Regions from separate parts of the Homo sapiens genome. Here regions 1, 2, 3, 4, 5 and 6 are each linked to region 7. The links are contacts of gene promoters, found by promoter capture Hi-C in blood cells and fetal thymus (Javierre and others, 2016). All regions are on one chromosome and are shown on one strand. Each heading gives the region's core, a stretch centred on a gene start or on the middle of the fragment in contact. The rest is flanking DNA. Distances are from core to core; before and after follow the strand shown. Region 1 overlaps GBE1 (1,4-alpha-glucan branching enzyme 1). Region 2 overlaps GBE1 (1,4-alpha-glucan branching enzyme 1). Region 3 overlaps LINC02008 (long intergenic non-protein coding RNA 2008). Region 4 overlaps LOC105377179 (a long non-coding RNA gene). Region 5 overlaps GBE1 (1,4-alpha-glucan branching enzyme 1). Region 6 overlaps LOC124906199 (a long non-coding RNA gene). Region 7 holds the start of GBE1 (1,4-alpha-glucan branching enzyme 1).

Region 1 (2,985 bases), core at 94-2,593, 170 kb before region 7:
ATCAAAATATAAGTCATATTTCCACAGACAGGATTGGATAAATATGCATTAAATATCAGGCACCATATTAGGAACTAGAATTACAGACACAATGCCTTCTGAAAAGAGTTTTGAAAGACCAAACTGTCAAGAATGACTGGTGATGGACTGGTATTAAAGATCAAGATGAATTTTCTCAAGAAAATATTAAGGCATGTTCTGTATCCAGTCCCAATGTTGTTTTAGGAAATAGAATCTGCTAAGAAAAACATATGGTAATCATGAAACCCAAACATCCCATAGACATATTTTTTTGGATAAACATAGAATTGAATCCTTTTGAAAAGCTTGAAACCTACATTTGTCCCTCAAGTCTTCTCAAAAAAAAGTATCAAAGAACTGAAGCTCACCAAATCATGGCATGCAATGAGATGCCAGACCGGTCATTCCTCATGATTGCTTCCTTACCCCTCTCTAGTTCTGTTTTCTTACACATTGTTACATTTATTTCTTACTATATAAACCTCTAATTTTAGTTGGTAAGAGAGATGGATTTGAGACTGATCAAAGCCTTCTTCTACGGCAATAATCATTGTCTCCGTGATTGGCTTTCTGTGCAGCAAGCAGCAGGACCTAGACTAAACCCCTGGTGATTTGGTAACAATCATATAGTCTTGACTCCTAAATCTGACTTCTAGAAAGTTGCCTCATTAATGCATATGAGTTGTTTCAGCCCTCCTTTTGAAGGTGGAAAGTTTGTGACTGTTCTTTTAAAATTTTTAAGAAAAAAAAGGTAAATCATAAAGGTCATCAAAATAAACATACTCTAAATATAAAACAATTGATGCCTATTCATATGGCATATGAAAATGATTCTGTGTTTGGGATGAAATTAAAATAGTTCTAATTTTTTACTATCTAAAGAGCACTTATAACCATTCCAGAGGGAAAGATACATCAATCAAAAATGTTTTAATTAATATAGCAAATATAATAATGTAAAATGGTAGATAAACTTGAGCAAAATAAGGTTGCAATTTTTGTAATTGTCATTATAAATAAATTCATATTTCTACTAAAGGAATTTAAATAAAATTACATTGCTTATTCGTTCAAATACATTCCTTTTCTTAAAAAAAAAAAAGTTCATGGGGATCAATTCTACATTTGGAAGAGACTCCCGCTAGACAGAAAAGTGACGTATTGAAATTGAAGTAGTTTTCAATTTAAGTGGAATAAATTGAAGGCACATCTTTTTTTAAAAAAAAAAAAAATCTAAAACCAAGTAATATAAAGTAGGCTAAAGTCTCAAAGTTTCATTGGTAGAAACACTGATAATCAGACCAGAGCTCCCTAGATGATGAAACTATTTTACTTGAAATGAATGGAAAGATCAATGTAACAATTTTAACTTTCATGTATTAAATCATTGCTTCTTTTTCTTCAGTACTCACTTTTGATTTGTGCTGTCATTAATTGTTTGTAGTAATTTGTCATTTGTAATATCTCTGCTTTGGATTGCCATAAATATCATTGACAAAATAATTAATTTTTTGATGTTTGACATATAAAATTCAAATATACATAAGGCAAAAGTTTAAAATACACTCTGATTGATGTTAAAGATATTCAGCACAAAAAATATTAGCACAAGTATTAGTAAGATGTGCTATGATCAAACGTAGGTAGGTCATGACTGTGAAAAAATACTGGGTGTCTAAATTGTATGGTAGGTTGTTTGTTTTTTAATTGTATATAAGAACGAATTTCAGGAATTTAGGGCTACTGCTTTATTCCCAGAAAATACTTAAAAAGTAAAATGCCTGAAGGGAATAAAACTATTCTCCTCTATCCAAGCGGTGAAATCATACCATTTATAAAATTGGAGATTTCTGATTTTGAGAAATGGTGGATATAAAAACAGTCTATACAAAAAATAAATACTACAGGAAGGAGACTATTCCATTTCATGCCAATAAGCTAAACACCAACAATGTAAAAACACACCTTAATTCTAACTATTTTTAACAGTAGTCTTACTATTTTTATATCTCAACCACTATACTTTGTATAGAACAGTTTTAACATGCTAAATTCAATTTTAATAATAATTCCTAGTTAGAGAACTTAGAAAACCAGAGGGATTTTAGCACTAAATCTAAATTAGCATAAGCATTTAACAAACTTCTTAATTTATCACATTTATCACCAAGAGGGGAATTGTCAATTATGCATATATGGAATTATATCATTACAGTGCAGCTTTGGGACAGTTAATCATGAACCTTCAACAATCATGAATAACTAGTGAACATTTGGCAATCTGAGAGCAATAACATAAACAAGAAAGGTAATCACATCAGAACAAGAAAGGCTTCAGAGAAGCTTGCAGGCAGCAATCCATCCTATCTTTAATGATTGAGCCAAAAAAGAAAAAAATAATAATAAATGGACAGACACACATTAATATTCAATTCTTTTCTCTGCTGAAGGTCTCATAGCGAAGGGCCTGTCCACTGATTAGGACATTTAACTCTCCAACCACTGGCATTTTCTTTTTTAACAACAGAATGGTGACAAGTAATTAGTATACATTATCTTCTAATAGGGAAACAGTGAATTCTAAATAATGTGCCACCCATACAAGATAGCTGCACTATACTCAGGGTAGAATTTCATTTACGCAATTATTGACAACATGAGATTGATTAATCAAATACTGTATGCTGACAAAATACTCTCTATTAAAGGGGGTCAGAAGGTAAGACTTCACTATGGCTTTACCTCAGCTATTGTTATAGAATCGGGACACAGCGTGTGAACCAAATGATTTGCCAACATGAGGTAAGTCAAGGCATCTTCATCTACTTGTAGTCCGAAATATTCACTGTAATCACCTGAGAAACCTTGACCTTAGAAAAAGAAAATCAATACGGATATATTATGTTAACAAGCAAGTCTTAACTCTGCACAAATACATTCACCAATTAGTTTGTTTATATGAAT
Region 2 (3,059 bases), core at 49-2,548, 250 kb before region 7:
GAGCTAGGTTATACTAGAGTTTTTCAGTTTCAAAAATTTATAATTCCATGCTGCCCAGTTTTGCCTAACAGTCATTAAACATCACAAAATTGCCCACTGCTTGGTGAATAGGGCATAGGTCAAGGTGGGGAGAATCATTAGGGAACATCTTCATAGAGCTGATAGCTGAAGGGTGGGTGAATTTTTCAGGGAAAAGTGCAAGAAAAATGAATAAATGGATTTAGATCTTAAAAAAGATAACATGAAGAATAGGTGGAAAGAAAAAGAAATCAAGACAGTGCTGCAGGATACAGAGAAAGGGAAATAAGAAAGAAAGGTGGGCAAATAGTACAAGAGTGAGGAAGAGATTTAACAGGGAACAGAAGAGTTTCAATTCCAGTACTGCGAAAGGACTGAAAGGAATCACTGTGTCGTGGTGAAATGGGAACTAGGACATGCGAAAAAACAAAAATCAAAAAACAAAACACTATGTGCTAGAGGGCAAAGAGTTGGAGTTCTGTCTTAGGAAAATCAAGGCCCGGAAAGGCAAATATATCCTCGTTTTGTCTTCACCCATGTAATAAAGGTGTTTATTGTTTTGTTCCCCCAAAAAAAAAACAAAAAACAAAAAGTAGGACAATAGAAAAAAGACAACAGACAGGATTAGTACCTATTTGTCTTTCTTTTTTATAAAAATTCATTTTTATTATAAAGTTTCTAATGCATTTTTAGAAGATGATGACAGTAAGGATGTCCATTACCCTTACTACTTGCTAAGCTCAAACGTGGGCGACACTGTTGTTAAGCCTTGCATGCATGTTAACTAATCATGAACTAATTTAATTCTGACAACAATTCTATGAATAGGTGTTCTAGAGATAATAACCAAGAAACAAAGAGGCTATTTTCAAAACAAAACTAAGTGGCAGAGATGGAACTTGAACCTCAGATAGTCAATATTCTAGAGCTCAAGCTAACCACTATCCTTGCAATGAGAGCAAATTTCTTTATGTTTACAAATATAAGAACAAGAAATACCTATTACCTCTGGAGACCTTTGTTACATGAGCCAATGGGAAATAAAAATGTTAGAAGTAGAGAACAAACTGAAGAAAATAATGTTTCAGAATTAGAAAATAATGCTACTACAGGAGAAAATTGTTTTTCCTTTGTTTTCTTCAGCTGGCAAAAAGGACAGATGTTAATAGGGAGGCTGGCAAAGTGAAAATTGGCTCTCTCTCTAAATAATAAAGAACACATGAGAAAAAAAAACCCAGTAATGTTTATAATTTTACATACAAACATAATAATTTTTCATTTTAATTAATGTTCTTGAAATAAAATGATCATTGTGTGACAATAAAACGTACTGAGTGTAATCATTTCATTCAGTTATATGTTAATTAAATAATTTTATTTGATATTATCTAAACACTTTCCTTATTCAACAGCTGATACCACATAACTACAAAAAATAACCATAATTAATTTTGTAAATTAATGCTTATTTATAGGAATTAATTAGGCATTTTCCCATCATTAGGCCAACAGAAACTACATTAATAGAATTAGAGATGGTTCTTATGCATGATTACAACTGAATCCACTGCTTCCAAGAACACACTGTTTTTGGCTCTAATATTTCCAACTTTCTCTGAGAAACAGAAACTTCTTTTGGTTGCAGCTTTCAAAAATGCTTAGGAGCCCGTAGGTAATTTTAGCGAGCCAGTAATTATATCACATCTTAATTTTAAGAAATCATCTGGGATACTCAGGTAATACTTTTATGTAAATAAAACACTGACCACTCAGTTTGATCCTGTGAGATTCTGATTAAGAAGAGCTTCACGGAAAATGTCAGAAACACGAATAATATCTCACGTAGGCAGGCAGGAGATACTCATTGAAAAAGGTAATTTCTACTGGCCAGAAGGAAAAGTAATATAACATCCATGTCATAAATTTAGTTTAGACATAGAATGCTCTATTTAAAACACACTGGTATCAGGTATAAAGATGACTAATACAATTTATTTTTTAAATAGAAAAAAAAACATATATTTTGGATAAATTAAGTAAAGCCTAACTTTAAAAGGAAAGGCTCAATGTGAAATCTTTCAGGCCAATGATACTACTGCACCAGCATAGCTCATTTTATCGCACTTTATTGCACTTTACAAATACACATTTTTACAAATTGAAGATTTGTAGCAACGCTGCATCCAGCAAGTGTATTCGTGCCATTTTCCAATAGCATGTGTTCACTTTGTGTCTCTGTGTCACATTTTGGTAGTTCTTGCATTATTTCAAACTTTTTCATTATTAATATATATTAATATATGATTGTCTATTCATAATTATATTATTTTTACATTATCATTATGTCTATGATGATGATCTGTGACCAGTGATCCTTGTTACTATTGTAATTGTTTTGGGGCACCACAAATCATGCACATATGCAACCACAAACTTAATAAATGTGTGTGTTGACTCCTCCAACCTACTGGCCGTTCCCTTGTCTCTTCCCCTTTTCTTGGGCCTCCGTATTGTCTAAGACCATATAGAATTTAGCCCAATTAATAACCCTACAATAGCCTCTAGGAGTTCAAATGAAAAGAAGAGGGGCATGTCTCTCACTTTAAATCAAAAACTAGAAATGATTAAGCTTAGTGAGAAAGGCATGTTCAAAGTTGAGACAGGACAAAGGCTAGGTCCCTTATGCCAAAGAGTTAGCCAAGTTGTGAACGCAAAGGAAAAGTTCTTCAAAGAAATAAGAAGTGCTACTCTAGTGAACGCATGAGTGATAGGACAGTGAACACCAGCCTACTGCTGATAGGAAGAAGTTTTTGGTGGTCTGGATCTAAGATCAAACTAGCCACAACATTCCCATAAGTCAAAGCCTAATCCAGCAAGGCCCTAGCTCTCTTCAATTCTATGAAGGCTGGGAGAGGTGAGGAAGCTGCAGAAGAAAAGTTTAAAGCTAGGAGAGACTGGTTCTTAAGGTTTAAGGAATAAAGACATCTTCATAACATAAAATTTTAAGGTGAAGTAGCAAGTGCTGATGTAGAAGCTGTAGC
Region 3 (2,922 bases), core at 136-2,635, 240 kb after region 7:
ATTTCAGATTCTTGATTTCTTGCCAAATAGTGAATAATCTTAAAATCAAATGTGCAGCAATAATAGGCCCAGCTGGGAGGATTAAGAAATAAGTATCTATTGAGCTGCCTGATCTCTTTGTTCTTTAGGTTTAGAGTAGGATAAATGAAAAAGGGGAGGCCAAGAGGGAGTGGTTTAATATAGAATAAATTGTCTAAAAGGGATCAGTGAAAGCAGGATTATTGATGAGTTAGGGAGTGAGCTAGCTGACTTTTTATTTTCAGACTAAGACAGGATAGAGATATGGGGATAAACTAGGAAATCAGATAAGAAAAACAAAGGATGCAGGCGTATTTGCCTTAAGTAGTCTTTTTCTGTTTCTGAGATTTCTTATGTTCTTGTGCTCTGAGCCAAGATCAGTTGAGATTAATCAGTTGTATAGAAAGCATTGTGATCACATTGCAGGCTTTTAAAGTTTAAATTTGTTTATTGAGCACAATTTGGTTAGCATCAGGTGCTGAAGTTATAGACACCAACACTAGCATAGAAATTACTTTATTTAGCTCCCAGTTGTAAGTTTCTATAGCAACTGGGGCCTGTACCAGAAAGCTGAGATTCTTGTGCTCAAATGATTCAGGCAGAGATGGCAATATCATATTTAGGGGGGCACTTGCTTCTTTTTTCCAAATTTTTTTCTGTCTTGTGAGAAGCCTCTTTAATGTGATTCTATCTGCTTAGTCATACTTTTAATTACACCTCTGCTTTGAACCCTCTCCTCTTGGCAGCAGTATAAAGTATCTATTTTGGTTGTGTTTCGATTTCCATTGACTAGTTAGTATATTGATGCAGAGGAAATGAATGTGATCTGTTTTAAATACAGTTGAAAATTCTGAATAGTGAAGAAAGTGTCCATGGTGACAAATGCAGTTAACCAATCCAGGAAGAAATTGGGATGTTAATTCAAAAAGGAAACCTAATTTAATTTCTACATTATGCTTTCATTCTGACCATAAATGCAATGTCATGATAATTTTAAATATGGGGGATGTCCCTTATGAAGTTCTCTTTTTAAGTTTTTAAGTAAGTGATTTTATTTTTGTTTTATAAATGAATGTTTTTATTGTAACAAATAGGACTTTTTTGGAGTGGCTTGTTATGGTCGAAGTAATATTTTATGATGCTAGTTTAGCCAATACTGGAGAAAGGCTTAGGAAAAAATAATTACATCCTGGCTCCAATTATGAAAATAATCTCTACATTAAAAATATATAAATATAGTAGATTTTTTGCTGCCTGTGCTTTGGAATGGCTGTAATGCAGGCATCTATCTATCTATCGTGTATATATATATATATAGCTATATAGATCTGTATATGTGTATATCTGTATATCTATATATAGATATACAGATTTCTAGAAAAAATGAATATCAAATAAAATAAACATACTGGAAATACATGTTTTAAATAATATTGTCTTTTTGATGAAACTCCACATTTTACAAGAACTGGCTTTTGATATTTGAAATAATCATGAACTGAGTAGTTTAAAGACTATTTAGTAGAAGATTGCTTATGGTATAATGTATGGCATAGTCTTTTAGTTTGGCAAATGACAAGAATAAACCATAAAAGCAAGGATTCTATTTGTGCCCTAATAAAACAAAAGAAAACAAAGGATTTCCATTTAGTGTTCACATTTACTGCTAACTTGAGGCCTATTAACATTTGGAAAACACAAATTCTAAAGGCAGCTGCCAGCAATTGGCCAATTATAATTTCACGATTGAAAGAGAAAATCTTATTTCACTATGAAATTCTGTACTTGTTTTCTCCTTTCATGAATTACCCCACAGCCAAAGCACGATGTGTGTGAGAGGAAGGAGAAAATAGACTCACTCCTGGTTGTCTGCAGAAATGTATCACCTCAGATGACCTTGATTCTCTTTGCATTCAGTAGGAGATTTTCTTTTACTAATTTTACAACAGATTTAATTGTAATAAAATTAATTCAGATTGTGATTATCTGTCTCTATTTGTACTCAGTTTCTATGAGGAATCTTAAAATATCATCAGTTCCATAGTTGAGTGTCTGTGTGTCATTATTGCAGTATGTCTATTATATCATGATATATCTGAAGTCACGTAAGACCAATTTTGCTCTTTCAGGCAAGCAGTTTTCCAGATCTCTGTTAGAACTCTGAATAGATAATTGCTCCTTTAACAAAACATGCATAGACAAAACATTTGATGAATAAAGAGCAGTTATTAACCTACACTCACATTTGTGAATATCAGGGTTTAGAACTATTACAAAATGGATTCTGCCATGAGTCAGTTTTGTTTTTCCTTTTCAAATATATCCGTTACATATTTTTTTTTCCTTCAGGTAACTTACAGTAATATTGCTTAATTTAAAATGTACCAGCTCTCCTAATGTAGCAACTTGATTAAAAAGAATTAAATGTTTACTCAAAATCATAGTCAAATAGAATGTAGAACTTGAAAATAGTAAGTTGAATTTCTCAGTATTTTATTGCAGAAATGAAAATAGTAATTATTGGAGGAGATAAGTGATTTATACAATTTGGTTTTGTTAGCTAAATCAAAACAGGCTTACTTAAACATGTATTTGAATCATAAATTGGTTTTTGTAGTCACAAACCAATTATACTGGATTCTTATTAATTATTTGTTGGTAACAGTAAACAATCAATAGATTAGAGTGTCAAAAGCATTTGGTGGGGGGAGGGGTGTTACGTGCAGAAACATTCACCTAGACCATCTGAGGCTCCTCTCTTTAGAAAGCTCATTTGCAAGATTTGACCACTGACTGATACCTGGGAACTTGGCTTCTGAAGCACTCCCTTAACTGGTAAGGTAATTTCTCTGGGCCTAGACATTCGTATAAACAGTGGAATTTATTGTAATGTCTGCTTTCTTT
Region 4 (2,987 bases), core at 236-2,735, 190 kb after region 7:
GTTACAAGTTACCTGCAAATTCTTGGAGTGAATGAACAATTCAAATCTTCTACTTATTCTATGTGAGAATTAATATAGTCTGAGCCTGCCTAACATTTAAGTTGCAGAAAAAGAATGTTTAAGGACCCCTTGTGTAAAAAAAAATGCTTAAAAGTCCATTACTGAAAATATTATATTTTGGAATTATGCTTAAAGTTTCACTGCTGAAATTACTTTGAAGGAAATGGCGTCTTCCAAAATAAAGTAACACGTAAAGCTGCCTTTTTCTTTGCACTATGAGAGGAATAAACTGAAAATGAATAGAGATCTAAGCCTCTGTTTGAAGAAGATCCAAGATCTGCGAAGAGGCCATAAGGAGAGGGGAAGTTGATAGGGACTTAAGAGGGAGTTGGCCAAAACAAACTTGGCTGCTTTGCAAGTTTCTCTGACTTGGTGATGCTGTGGGTGCCCGTCAATACAAAACTAATTCTGACCCAGTTGGTTATTTTCATCCTTTATTATTGGCAGCATTTATGGCATTTAACAATAATCCTATGCTAAATTTGTAGGCAGAGGAGCATCTAGCTTTTAAGTAAGATTGTTTTCTCAGTGTTTTGGCAGAGCACAAACTACACACCATAAGGGACATTCTCTAACTCCGTTGAGCGTTATCCTTATTATTATTATTATTTCTTAAGGATATCACAAGTCTAGATTGTCTTTTTGACACTGTGATTCATCGTCATCTACCTTAAGGATCCCATAATGTTAAAAAATCTCTTGGCCCTCAGGGGCAGATAGACTCATATCTCACTTGCTCCCCTAAAAGGCACAAAATCAAATTACACCAAAAGCCTCCTTAGAGTACAGCTCTTTGCCAATTACTTGAATTATTTTCAGCCACTTTGGCACATTTCCTCTCCAGCTGAAATGAAAATCTTTTACTCTGCCCCAGTGAAGGATTTCATATTTCTTAGTGCTTCCACATATACTGTATAATGAGAATAAAAGCTTCTCTGCCTCACAGATCTTTTCGTACAGTGCCATAATGCAGGGAAAATAACATCCATTTCTAACACATGAAGCCCACGTATTTTCTAAAGAAGAAGAGAAAGGCATTAACATTACACAAGAAAACTATTTGCTCTTTGCTTTAAATTTCCAAATTTGAGGACACCGGAGATTTCAGACTTCAAAACTACATACATCTGTGCTGAGACATAGACCCTCTAAGGTGCTTCATTATTGGCACTTAAAGCTGGTTTCATGAAACACCTGGTCTGAGTAAGCAATATGATCAGAGAGTGTCAGCAGGGCAGACAGATTTTAAATGGAAGATTGTTACTTACCCAGAAGCCATTTTGAAGCGAAAAACAGCATTATCAGCAAACCAGTAACAATAACTTAAACATCCCCAAGTGCATTATTAACACTTCTAGCCCTCTAAAGATTAGATGACTTCTTTATAAAAGTTTTTATGTCTCGAGAGAACATATTGTTCTCTGCATTTATCATTTTACAAAAATATTATTTTTCACCAATAGTCTTACTTTTATTATTCCGTCATCTTTTATTTTTGCTTCTGATAAGTGTTATTTCCTCTCTACCAGTGCCTGCAGCAGCCTGCACTGCAATCACTACCCATTGCTCAGTATTTGTCCGTTTTCTCAACAGCCCTTTGGATTGAAACTCTTGCCTGGAGCATTAAGAACTTGGGGGAGAAATCACTACTCACTGCTTTGCTCGCAATTCTCATTTGGACTAGCGCTTGCAGAAACTGAGCTGAACTTTCCGCACTGTTATTGCATCTGTAAGGTAATTGCCTAAACTTGTTGAGCCAATCGGAATTGCTGTTGTTGACTTTTGCAAATGTGAAGAATCCGATGAAGCAATTTGTAAGCCATATGTGGTACATCCCTCTTTCCCCACTCAAAGTCATATTGCTCTCTATAGGATTTTGTGTGATCCTTATGAAACATCACACTCCAGAATTCTATTTTAAAAGCTTCAAACATTAGTGTTTAAAAAGTCATTCATATTTATGGGACCATTTTGTTGCCAAATTCTTGTATTAAAAGAGGGTTAAAATTCTTTAGTAGTACTTTAATGTCTTGGAAAACTTACAGAAAAAAATTATTTAAAAAGAGAGAGAACAGATACACACACATTCATACAGTCTGTAAAATAGGGGAAATATTGTGTCATATGACTGTGTTACATTTTTTTCATCATAAAATTTGTGTTGAGTGCAGGGGCATTCAGAAATGTCTCATTACTATTGCTTCCTGAGTTGAAAAAATCGATTTTTTTTTTTTTTTGAGACGGAGTTTTGCTCTTGTTACCCAGGCTGGAGTGCAATGGCGTGATCTCGGCTCACTGCAACCTCCACCTCCTGGGTTTCATTGATTCTCCTGCCTCAGTCTCCTGAGTAGCTGGGATTACAGGCACCCGCCACCACACCCAGCTGATTTTTATAGTTTTGGTAGAGATGGGGTTTCACCATGTTGGCCAGGCTGGTCTCAAATTCCTGACCTCAAGTGATCCACCTGCCTTGGCCTCCCAAAGTGCTGGGATTACAGGTGTGAGCCACCGCACCCGGCTAGAATGTTTGCTGTGTACATAAACACACACACACACACACACACACACAGAGAGAGAGAGAGAGAGAGAGAGTGAGGGATTTATACCTTCAGTAAAAGCACAGGGAATGTAAAAGCCTTATGTGTTCTCTCATTTAGAGAAATACTGAATGAAGAAATTATAAATTTACTAGACCACATTCCTATCCTCACTTGTTACAAAATTTGAAGTACTTTCCTACATGAAAGAAGATATTGCTCTGACCCAGTTGAATCCTCACTGAATGCTTAACTAGCTAAATTATCCCCTTCATATTTGATGTCATGCAGGTCAGTATCTCTTCAAACAGAGAATTACTAAAAACTAGTCCAATTTCAAAAAATTTTAAAACATTTTTCTCTCTTGCAGATCAGTGGTTAAAAAGATAA
Region 5 (3,184 bases), core at 41-2,540, 190 kb before region 7:
GTGAGTATATGTGAAGACATATATATGTATGTGTGTGTATATATATACATATATAAATGGAGAGATAACATTTATACACAGATTGTGAGCTAAATGGAGAGATAACATGTATACACAGATTGTGAGCTATCTAGGAGAAACTATTGACTATTAAAATGCCATAAACATTCCAGCTACCACCCCCCCAAAATATGAATTGACATTTTAAAGATCTAAAAAAAATACCAAATTACATGTGACCAATATTAGAAAGGAGCTATACTTAACATCTTACTTCAATTCACTAGTGACACAACTGTTTTATGGAACATTTATATTTATATGATAAAAATTTAATTTTTCCCAAATGTCCAAATTACATTTGAAAACTAATTTTTTAATGTTTTTAGTTATTACTGACATTAGCACTAATAAGGGTAAACAATAGGGGAATTAAAAAAACTAATTTAAATGTAGGACATTAGGAATTAAATTTTACTTTGGTTTCAATGCTAAGATAAAAAATGTTACAGGACATGTAAACTGTGAAATATGCCATTTAAAAAGATTTCTCTTATAGCAGTAATACATAGCAATATGTAAAGGCCAACTAATATTTTTTGACCTTGTTGTTCTGCCATTTACATGATATGGCATTCCACCAGTGAGTAGAAGATGTGGCAAGGGGTCAGAGATGTTCATGCCCTTGCCATTTAAGAGCTTGACCTGTGAGTTGCTTATACAGCACTACCATTAACATCCTTCTGGCCATAACTGCTGGTCACATGACCTCAGCAGGCTTCCAAAGAACCTGGGGAATGTGCTTGTTATTCTGGCCATCCATGTACCCAGTTAAAATTTGGAGGAAAAGTGTTAATGGAGAAAACTAGCAGTCACGACCACAGCTATGAGAGAGCAGACGGAGTATCTATCACACAAATACAACACATTAGTAAACACTTAACTGAAAAACTGTTTCAAACATTGATTTCTAATAAAGAAAATAATTGCCACTTTTCTTTGCTTACTTATTTTATTTTATTTTTTTAATTTCAAGATTTTGCTCTTGTTGCCCAGGCCGGAGTGTAATGGTGTGATCTTAGCTCACTGCAACCTCCACCTCCCAGGTTCAAGAGATTCTCTGCCTCAGCCTCCCGAGTAGCTGGGATTACAGGTGCCTGCCACTACACCTGGCTAATTTTCTGTATTTTTAGAAGAGATAGGATTTAACTTGCCAGGCTGGTCTCAAACTCCTGACCTCAGGTAATCCACCCACCTCAGCCTCCCAAAGTGCTGGGATTACAGGTGTGAGCCACCATGACTGGCCTGCTTACTTATTTTTATAAAGCCAAAGACAATATTAATTTTCAGACTAAAATATACGGTCACTAGGTGTTTCTTTTACAGTGATAACTTCTAATTAACCTAAGAAACAGAATGTTAAATTAGAAAAAAAAATTCTTAAAGGCATGCAGTTGACATATTTTACAGAAATCTATGGGATTAAGAATTTGTACCATTTGTTCAAAGTATCCTGATTGCCAACACAGATTCAGAACTCATAACTGATCTATTGGCTCTCAGGATATGATTGTTGTACTAAAATTACAGATGTTTCTCATAAGTGTGAGCAAGATGTTATGAATCTCCAAGCATGAAAGATATTCCCAAATCTTAAGAGGGAGAAGATGAAGGTTGATGGATTTCACACAAAGTAAAGTTGCATAAAGTTACCACAGGTATTTTCAAAAAGTGCATGATCTTTATAATTTAACGCCTGCCTACTTTTTACTTCCTGTGTATCAGGAAATGAAATTGGAGACTGGTGTAATTGTAACTTAGTACTCAAGAAGTAGGAAGCAGAGATATCTGGGTGGAAAGGTAGGCAGTAGTTGGATCATAAAGGATGTTATAGGCCTTCATAAAGGGGTGGGCATTGCACTATAAGTTCATTGATCATGTGTATACAGTATGTCTTTAAAAGCCTGAATTGGAACACCACTAGTTCTTAATTCTCTTAATTCAGTTAGAATAAAAGAAGGTATGGGTTTCTAAAGAGCCTAAAAAACCATAAACATAATTATATCTGTAAATGTGTCCCCATACATGCTGGCAAGTAGAAAAATAACTCCATGTTTATTTTCTACCAAGTGCCCTATATAAAAGATAATGATAACATGATTGCTTTTAATAGTAGGAATTAGGCTTTTAAAGTCAAGACAGTATACACTCAGGATCTAAAGTCTTCTTTAACAGGAAAAGCAACATATTACTCTGAAACAAACAAAAATAAAATGGAGGGAAAAAGGAGGTAAATTCAAGGTGGAAGGATAGGAAAAGAGACAGAATTCCAGGAGTCTGACTTCCTACATCATGTCCCATAGCGTTATCTGCACACACAGCTCCTCATATACCTTTTTACTTATTTCCTCCTTTTATTACTTTTCTCCGTTGAAGAGGGAAGACATTAGACATGGAAATAATGAGTTTGATTTGAATGAATTAAGGAATGAATGAGCAAACAAATAAACCAATGGGTTTAGTTGATTCCAGATTTCTTCTGATATTTCAACTTATGTGTTAACATCTCATGTCATGGGGAATATGTTTTATAATGACAACACAGGTTTTCAGTTATATGGAGCACTGAGCTACATTACAGAAGTGAAATGTTGCTGGTTTTCTTGATTTAAGTCTGCTAGTTCAGTATTTTTTTAAATGAGAAATGTGAATCATTTATGTTTCGAGGTATACCCGGAGAGTTATATAAAAAGCATTAAATTTCAAATAGAGTGAAGCTATACTCATTTAAAAAGTGCTCTTCTATAACACTACAATCCCCAGGAGGAAGAAGAAAATGACAACTGATGAAAGTAAAGCTTCTGTTCCAAGAATAATTTTTACTTTAGTTCAAAGTATTCTGAACAAGTGGAATATTAACATGACAGTACTAAAAGTGATTCAGGTCACTCTACATTTGAATCTTTACCTATACGTTATGAAACTAAAGAAGAAGTCAAACCAGGGTGGAAAACAAAACAACTTTTTTTAAAACAAAACTGGCAGTAAGCTATTGATAAAAAAGATTCCAGTACCCATAAAGAAATCTAAAGGTTATTTTTAAAAAAATTCTTAAAGTTAGAGACTTGATTACTTGAGAATTGACATGGTTAGGCTTTGTGTCCCCACCCAAATCTCATCTTGA
Region 6 (3,237 bases), core at 212-2,711, 210 kb after region 7:
ATAAGAACTAAAGCTTTAAAGGAAAGGCAGAAAGTTTTTTATGAGATTTCAAGACATCAGGGAGGTAAAGGAGATCTTTTGAGGAGGTCCTTAACATTTTACCAGCTTGTAATTTTACTTAAGAGTAGTGAGAGGTATTCTAATTGCAGGAATGGGAAGAAAACTTCGCCTTTTTGTTAACTTTATTGAAGGTCAGATTTTCTTTTTAAACTTGTCTATATTTATCTGTTATACACTCACTACTCACAGTTAAAGCTTACTGCTTCACTTACTGAACTAATTCGGAAACACACATGCATGCACATACGCACATAGGAAGAGAAAGAAAGAATACCACAAATAAAGCCCAAATCATTCCTGTTCAACCTTCACTGCATCTTTTACACTTAATTGTATTAAACTGTCAGCATTTCACTAGTTTCTTCTTTTTTGTAATGCTTCACTGAGAGTACTACAGCTTACAAAAAGGAACTTTTATCCATAAAAGAGCTTTTCTATTGAATGAATCAGAAGATAAAACCAATGCACTTTAAAAATATCTCTCTATCATTTTTTCTCAGCTTGTTGCTCCAGACCTCGAGTTTAAACTAGTTCGAAATCAATCAACTCACTCAGAAGTAGAATGAAAGACTTCTCAGAAGAAAGTGAGAACACAGGAAAATATATATTTTTAAATTGCCGATCGTCCCTTACATCTCAGACAGAATTTTTCACTGTCTCGCACAGAATCAGGGCACGTGGTGAAGCATTTGGAAAGCGGATGCTGAGGTCAAGCAGCAAGCATTGGCACATAAATTGCAAGGCAGATTGAGAATTATTAGAGAGGAGAGTAAAACAAAGGGAAAAATAAGTGGCTACTCCATGAAAATAAAATCTATCTTTCATTAGTTCTCATCTAGGATGTAGTGTTAATTGAGAGTAAATATGGATTGATCTCAGAAAAGCAGTCAATTTACAATTTTACAACTCATAGAAACACTATAAAATAAGAATATAAACTCCTTGAGGTAACAAAGTATGTTTTCTACTTTCTTTTCAGACACTCAGAGAGTTGTCTTTACATAGGTGCATAATGAATTCCTTAGGAATGACCTATTAGATTAATTTTGGGGAAATTCATTCGATTAAGAATTATAAAACTATAGAATCCCAAGCTTAATGTTTCTCACAGTTAGTAATATTTCTAATGGCGACTTAGTGACAATCTAGAAACATGTTGAGGATGCCCAATAGGAGTAAATCCTTCTAACATTGAATATGAATATGAAATAGAAGAAATTAGAAGTGCTCCCAGGTGACCAAACCTCACTGTTCACTGTGTGCACTGGTGAAGGCTTTAGGAGTAAAGGATTAACAGTGCTTGTGTGTGTGCTGTGTCAGAATCATCAGTTAACCAGGAGACTATCATGCACTTAGTAATCACAATGACAAAAGGAGAGCCTTGGCTTAGAGGGAAGGGAATTCGTTGGAGACATATATTACCATTAACTGAGGTAGAACAGAACTCGTTTTCTTTCAGTTTCTCTTTTCTGACTGGCCATCCTTATTTTTTTTTCTCTTTTGTTAACCTCATTTTTATGAGTGCTCTGAAAATACTGGTTATTGATTTTACAGTTATGAAGTTGATAAATGCTGAAGTTTCTGCCCTAGGACAACCTTTTAAAATAAAATTGTGAAAAGATGGAACGTTACTAAAAGAAAGTAGCAACATCCATTAATGTCTGTTTCTGTTATATATTTGTATATCATAATAATATTATTAGTAATTGAAGCTTCCTAACTCATTCATTAATTAGCCTGTTCATAAACTTGAGCTGTGTATCCACTCTGTGCCAGGCACTGCGCTTGGGACCAAGAATTAAAAGATGCATATCTTACTCCATTCTCCAGGAGCTTTTATTTTCTGGGATACTAGTCCAGGACCAGTTGATGATGAAACTATCTTAAGTGGCATGCTACGATTTTGTAAAGAATATTACAGGGGAGTAGAGAAGGGTGAGCCATGCTTTCAAGGAAAAGGTAAAATATAAGTTAAGTCTTGAATTCAAACTGGAATTAGGTTGGGAGAGGAGGGTGTTAACTGAAGTTAGCTAAAATGTGGGTGCCAAGCATGGGCCTAAGTGAGTCACTGTACTGTCTCTAACTGCCCGTCCATCTCAGTGTTCTGCCTGCTAGGCCCTCAGTAAATAGAAGTTCAAGGAAGAAATCTACGTACATGGAATGGTAATGTTACAAATATAACTCTAAAATATTTGAGTAAAATAAGATTATTTTTACAGAGCCAACATAGTAGCTTCTTAGAGTCTTTGTCATTGTTTCTGGTGTTTTCTCCTCTTTTAGGTCTCTTCAGGAGTAACAGTAGTGTTCTCTTACATCAAGGAGTAAGAAAATTACAGAGCTAAAGAATAGGAGGAAATGAGATAGAAGTAATTCTAAAATCACAAATACTAGAAAAAAATTGCTAATGATTCATAAGGCATATTTTAGAGACTTCAATAGTAGTAGGCAGTCGTTCTGTAATTAATTCATGCAACTCAATTGAAGGTAGATGCATGTTCAATCCATGCTATTGTTTATATGAAATAAGTCCTTCAAACTAAAATTAAATACCTTTATGTATGAGGCTAGTTGAATTTCATAATATTATATTTTATGGTAAAAGTTACAGGGGTAGGCAAATATTACCGTAAATAGTTAATAATACTTAATATCTGCTAAGCATTGCAAAGGTGGTTTTTTAAAGGGAGATCAGGCAACAGTTCGAGTATGGGAAATCCTTTGTAGAATTTAAAAAATGGGTATCTTCTTTTGGCAAGAAGTAAAATGTATCCTCTATGTTTTGGTTTAGAATTTTGAGAATTTTTTTTTCCTGCTGAAACAGAACTGCCGTTGATCTTTGAACAATGTGGGGGTTAAGGGTACCGACTCCTGTGCAGTCAAAAATTCACATATAACTTTTGACTCCCCCAAAACTTTACTAATGACGTACTGTTGACCAGAAGCCTTACCAATAATGTAAATATTTGACTAACACATATTTTTTGTGTTATATGTATTATATATTGTGTTCTTAAAACAAGCTAAAGAAAATGTTATTAAGAAAATTATAAAAAATAGAAAATACATTTACTGTTTATGAAGTGGAAATGAATCATTATAAAAGTCTTCATCCTCATGGTTTCCCCATTGAGTAGGCTAAGAAGGAGGAGAAAGAGGAGGGGTTAGTCTTGATATCTC
Region 7 (3,290 bases), core at 31-2,530:
TCCAAATCAACCCATTTTCATTACTCTCAACGCTCCTTCATGCCAGTTAACTAGTTGGATGTTTTCCATCACTCGAAAAATTGGCCATGTATATTCTGTTGCCAGGATAGTTTCCATTCTGCAGTGTCTCTCCTAAAAGGGGAGAAACTATTAAATCAAAATGGGGTAACCTCACAAGTATAACTATTACAACTTGTATAATAGCTCTTTTACTTCAAACAACAACGACAACAGAAAAAGACCTGTACCTTTTTAGTGGAACTTATGAATAGAATTATTAGCCCAGTAACTAAAGTTGTATGGTACACAATGGTAGAAGACAAGCTAAAACGACATTGGCCTGTAAAAGTTGCTTTCCTGACCTTTCTCCCTCTTCAAGATGGTTAAAGTCACACACGGACAAATGTTGATGTACATTTAACTTCTCAATGTTGATCCAAGGGGAGAAAAAATTGATCAATGTAGGTGTAATCTTCCCCTAAATGAGGAATATTAGCAAGGAAAAAACAAAAGGATATAGTGTCTGCCTGAAGGAATCCTCTTAGATATAAAATCACAACATTTGCTATGAAATAAACTAGAAAGTTTTAAATGCGTAATTACACGTGCCAGGAGTTATGCCCACGTTACTCCACAGGCCCACGCTAGTGGGTGCCAAAGTCAGAAAACCTGCAGCGGCGGTGAGTCACTCCCCAGCAGCACTCTGGGGAATAAGTGTTGGAGCCACAGCACGTACCCTATGGCGCAAGACCGCTGATTAGAACAGAGGGGAAAGGGGATGAGGAAAGAAGTTTCTTCAGCGCCCGCTCCGGGCACCAGCGCTGTCAAACCTGCCACTACGGAAGCCACAGAACCCGGTTACCCGAGTCACCCCGAGCCCCGCCCACTCAGGTTCCTCCCCGCCTGGGGCGGGGTTGGCGCGCGAGGGCCGAGGGGCGGCCCGTGTCCCGAGACGGCTCCTGGGAGGCGGGCTGCCTGTCTAAGTGGGGGTGGTGGGATTCCGGCGGTACCTGCGCTGGAAGTCCACGGCGTAGGGCTTCAAGTACGGGTCGATCTCCAGGAGTCTGGCCAGTTCGGGCACGTCAGCCAGGGCGGCATTGAGCGCCGCCTCGTAGTCCTCGGGCCGAGCCGCGGGAGTCATCGGAGCCGCCATATTCCGCCGCAGTCCAAGTAGCCGAGGCCCGAGAGGTCGAGTGGGGCCTGAGCGGGCGCTGGAGCTCTAGCTGGGACGCGGCGGCTAGGGCGGAGCCGGAGGGCGCCTAGGCGTGTCGAGGCAAGCCGAGGCGAGCCGCGGCGGTCCGGGGCCCTTTATAGCCGGGACGGAAGGCCTCCTGCCCTTTCTCCCCCCGCCAGCGGGGAGGAGCGGATCCCGGGGTGATGCCGGGACGCACGTCCGGAGCGGGTAGGAGGCACCGAGGCCTCTCCGCCCACTCACGCGGCTGGCACCTGGAGGCCGCAGGGACCTGCCCTTTCCTCCCCTTAACGGTTTTTTCCTGCTGGCGGAGGTCATTCTAGGAGGTGGGTCCCAAGCTGACCTCGCTCAGCCTTGGCCTTCCTCACCCTGACATATTCTTGGCTTTTCTTTACCCACTTAAGCACCCACTGACAGCGACCCCTTCAAATTGGACATAAGGGGTTTTTTTGGAAAGGACCGTATTTCTCAAAGTTCTGAGACTTTTGAGGGGCAGTATTTCAAACATATCATGTAAATTCACAGAGAGGGGAACAGTCAAGTGTAGCTAGAGTACTACTGCTGAAAATGTTAATACCTCTTACAACCAGGACTCTCCTAAGTTTGCCAGGTCACGTGAATTTAAAATTAACCAAGACACAGAATCCTGGAATACCGTTGGAATTCTGCTGTTCTGGTACTCTTTTCTGCATTACCAACAGCTAAGAATTTTAGCCATGGGAAGAACTTTTCTCATTCTCCGTAAGGCCAAAAAGGAAAAGGCATTTGCCTGTGTTTATAATTGTTAACAAGCTTTTCAACGATTAAACTACCTTTGATAACACAAATGATATCATTGAATTGGAACTCCACTCTGCCACTTACAGTGATAAGGCAAGAAACCTCTCTTCCTCTTGGCTTGGGAAGCTCCCACTTGGAATTCCCTTCTTTTATTGCCATTAACTGACTAGCTTCTATTTCAATAATTGCTTTTTAGGAATACAGAGTTGGACTCCAAGAGAGATGGACCCACCAAACCCAGGAGGGTCCAAGCTGCTTTACACCTAGAAACTAGAGAGGATTGAGGATATTTTTCTTGTTAAAACCCAGAACTGGAGGATCCTAGGGGTTATGGAGGAGAAACAGTATTAATCAGCCGTGGGCCTTGAATTTTAAAATATTTCAAAGGAAAGTTTTTATAAGGGGTTTCATAGACTTGAAAGATAAGTGGATATGAAGACAGACCTCAGTGTGAAAAAGTGAAGGACTTGAACGACTTTAAGACGTGCCTTGTTTTCCATAAAGATGACAAAAAACTGCTGCAGACATTTGTAAAATATAAAGCACTAAAAAAGGAAGAAAATTAAAAAAAAATAAAAACCCGAAGCAGGACAACTATTAATAACAGACCCACAGATCTACATCTCCAAGCCTAAACTTTTTTCAGAAACCCAGGCTTGTATCACTGCCTGTCTACTGAGATTTCCATTTAGCTGGCTAGGAGACCTAAACAAACTGTCTGCAAAACGTGACCTAGAATCCGTCTTCTCATCCTTCCTGCTGTCACTCTTATGCAGGCCACTGTTTTCCTTCACTTGGACCAGAATGTAGCTCTCTAACTGACTTCCCCTCTTCTACTCTTTCTCACCTCTACTCCATTCTCTGTACCAGTGTTTCTCACACTTTAATGTGCATATGAATCACCTAGGGATCTTAATTGAGTTCCGATGTGGTGCTTCAGATTGCATTTTTAACAAGCTCAGAAGTGATTCTGATGCTGGTGGTTGGGGACACAGTTTGGTGAGACTCTACACTGAGTAAATCAGACGATGTCATTTAGCAACTTAAATAGCATAGTATTTCACTTAGGGTAAAATAGAAACAGCTTATCATTCTCTAACAAGGCTTGTATAATCTGGACCCTGACTACCTTTCCAGCCACTTTTCTCATCATTTTCCAGTTTTACTATGCTCTAGTCACACTGACTTTCCTGGAACTCAGTGAATTTGTTGTATAATAGCCTCTAAGATTATTTGCTTGCTGTTCTCTCTGTTGGAAATTTTCAGGGAGCTGAGCTCTACTTGCTTAATTTTTTCCAAGCCTTCATTCCAGCCTCAG

The links. The method cuts DNA at HindIII sites, captures the fragments that hold promoters and counts their contacts. A CHiCAGO score of 5 or more calls a contact.
Region 1: a fragment that was not itself captured here is called in contact with the fragment with the promoter of GBE1 in region 7 in 2 of 17 cell types (total CD4 T cells and non-activated CD4 T cells); the score reaches 5.9 in total CD4 T cells.
Region 2: a contact is called between a fragment that was not itself captured here and the fragment with the promoter of GBE1 in region 7, in 1 of 17 cell types (non-activated CD4 T cells). The highest score is 5.6, in non-activated CD4 T cells.
Region 3: a contact is called between a fragment that was not itself captured here and the fragment with the promoter of GBE1 in region 7, in 2 of 17 cell types (M0 macrophages and monocytes). The highest score is 6.7, in M0 macrophages.
Region 4: a fragment that was not itself captured here is called in contact with the fragment with the promoter of GBE1 in region 7 in 1 of 17 cell types (M0 macrophages); the score reaches 7.8 in M0 macrophages.
Region 5: a fragment that was not itself captured here is called in contact with the fragment with the promoter of GBE1 in region 7 in 2 of 17 cell types (non-activated CD4 T cells and naive CD8 T cells); the score reaches 6.1 in non-activated CD4 T cells.
Region 6: a contact is called between a fragment that was not itself captured here and the fragment with the promoter of GBE1 in region 7, in 1 of 17 cell types (monocytes). The highest score is 5.3, in monocytes.

Annotation. Positions count from the first base shown.
Region 1 is chr3:81,588,274-81,591,258 of GRCh38, forward strand. It overlaps GBE1 (1,4-alpha-glucan branching enzyme 1), which reads right to left. Exons shown (of 16, transcript NM_000158.4): 9 at 2,764-2,891. Among named protein-coding and RNA genes, the nearest start is that of GBE1, 170 kb to the right of the region's middle. The HindIII fragment of the contact is 2,038 bases long and covers 325-2,362 here.
Region 2 is chr3:81,512,982-81,516,040 of GRCh38, forward strand. All of the region lies in intron 14 of GBE1 (1,4-alpha-glucan branching enzyme 1), which reads right to left. Among named protein-coding and RNA genes, the nearest start is that of GBE1, 250 kb to the right of the region's middle. The HindIII fragment of the contact is 2,694 bases long and covers 1-2,645 here.
Region 3 is chr3:82,002,665-82,005,586 of GRCh38, forward strand. All of the region lies in intron 1 of LINC02008 (long intergenic non-protein coding RNA 2008), which reads left to right. Among named protein-coding and RNA genes, the nearest start is that of LINC02008, 18 kb to the left of the region's middle. The HindIII fragment of the contact is 4,659 bases long and covers 1-2,922 here.
Region 4 is chr3:81,951,467-81,954,453 of GRCh38, forward strand. LOC105377179 (a long non-coding RNA gene) reads left to right here. Exons shown (of 4, transcript XR_940999.2): 4 at 1,654-1,798. Among named protein-coding and RNA genes, the nearest start is that of LINC02008, 33 kb to the right of the region's middle. The HindIII fragment of the contact is 994 bases long and covers 989-1,982 here.
Region 5 is chr3:81,568,804-81,571,987 of GRCh38, forward strand. The region is part of intron 12 of GBE1 (1,4-alpha-glucan branching enzyme 1); the gene reads right to left. Among named protein-coding and RNA genes, the nearest start is that of GBE1, 190 kb to the right of the region's middle. The HindIII fragment of the contact is 3,132 bases long and covers 1-2,856 here.
Region 6 is chr3:81,973,515-81,976,751 of GRCh38, forward strand. It overlaps LOC124906199 (a long non-coding RNA gene), which reads right to left. Exons shown (of 3, transcript XR_007096262.1): 2 at 3,131-3,195. Among named protein-coding and RNA genes, the nearest start is that of LINC02008, 11 kb to the right of the region's middle. The HindIII fragment of the contact is 618 bases long and covers 1,153-1,770 here.
Region 7 is chr3:81,760,365-81,763,654 of GRCh38, forward strand. It overlaps GBE1 (1,4-alpha-glucan branching enzyme 1), which reads right to left and starts at 1,281. Exons shown (of 16, transcript NM_000158.4): 1 at 1,011-1,281. The coding sequence starts at 1,153. RefSeq lists enhancers at 560-729, 1,070-1,359, 1,146-1,754 and silencers at 830-909, 1,410-1,509. The HindIII fragment of the contact is 5,689 bases long and covers 1-1,982 here.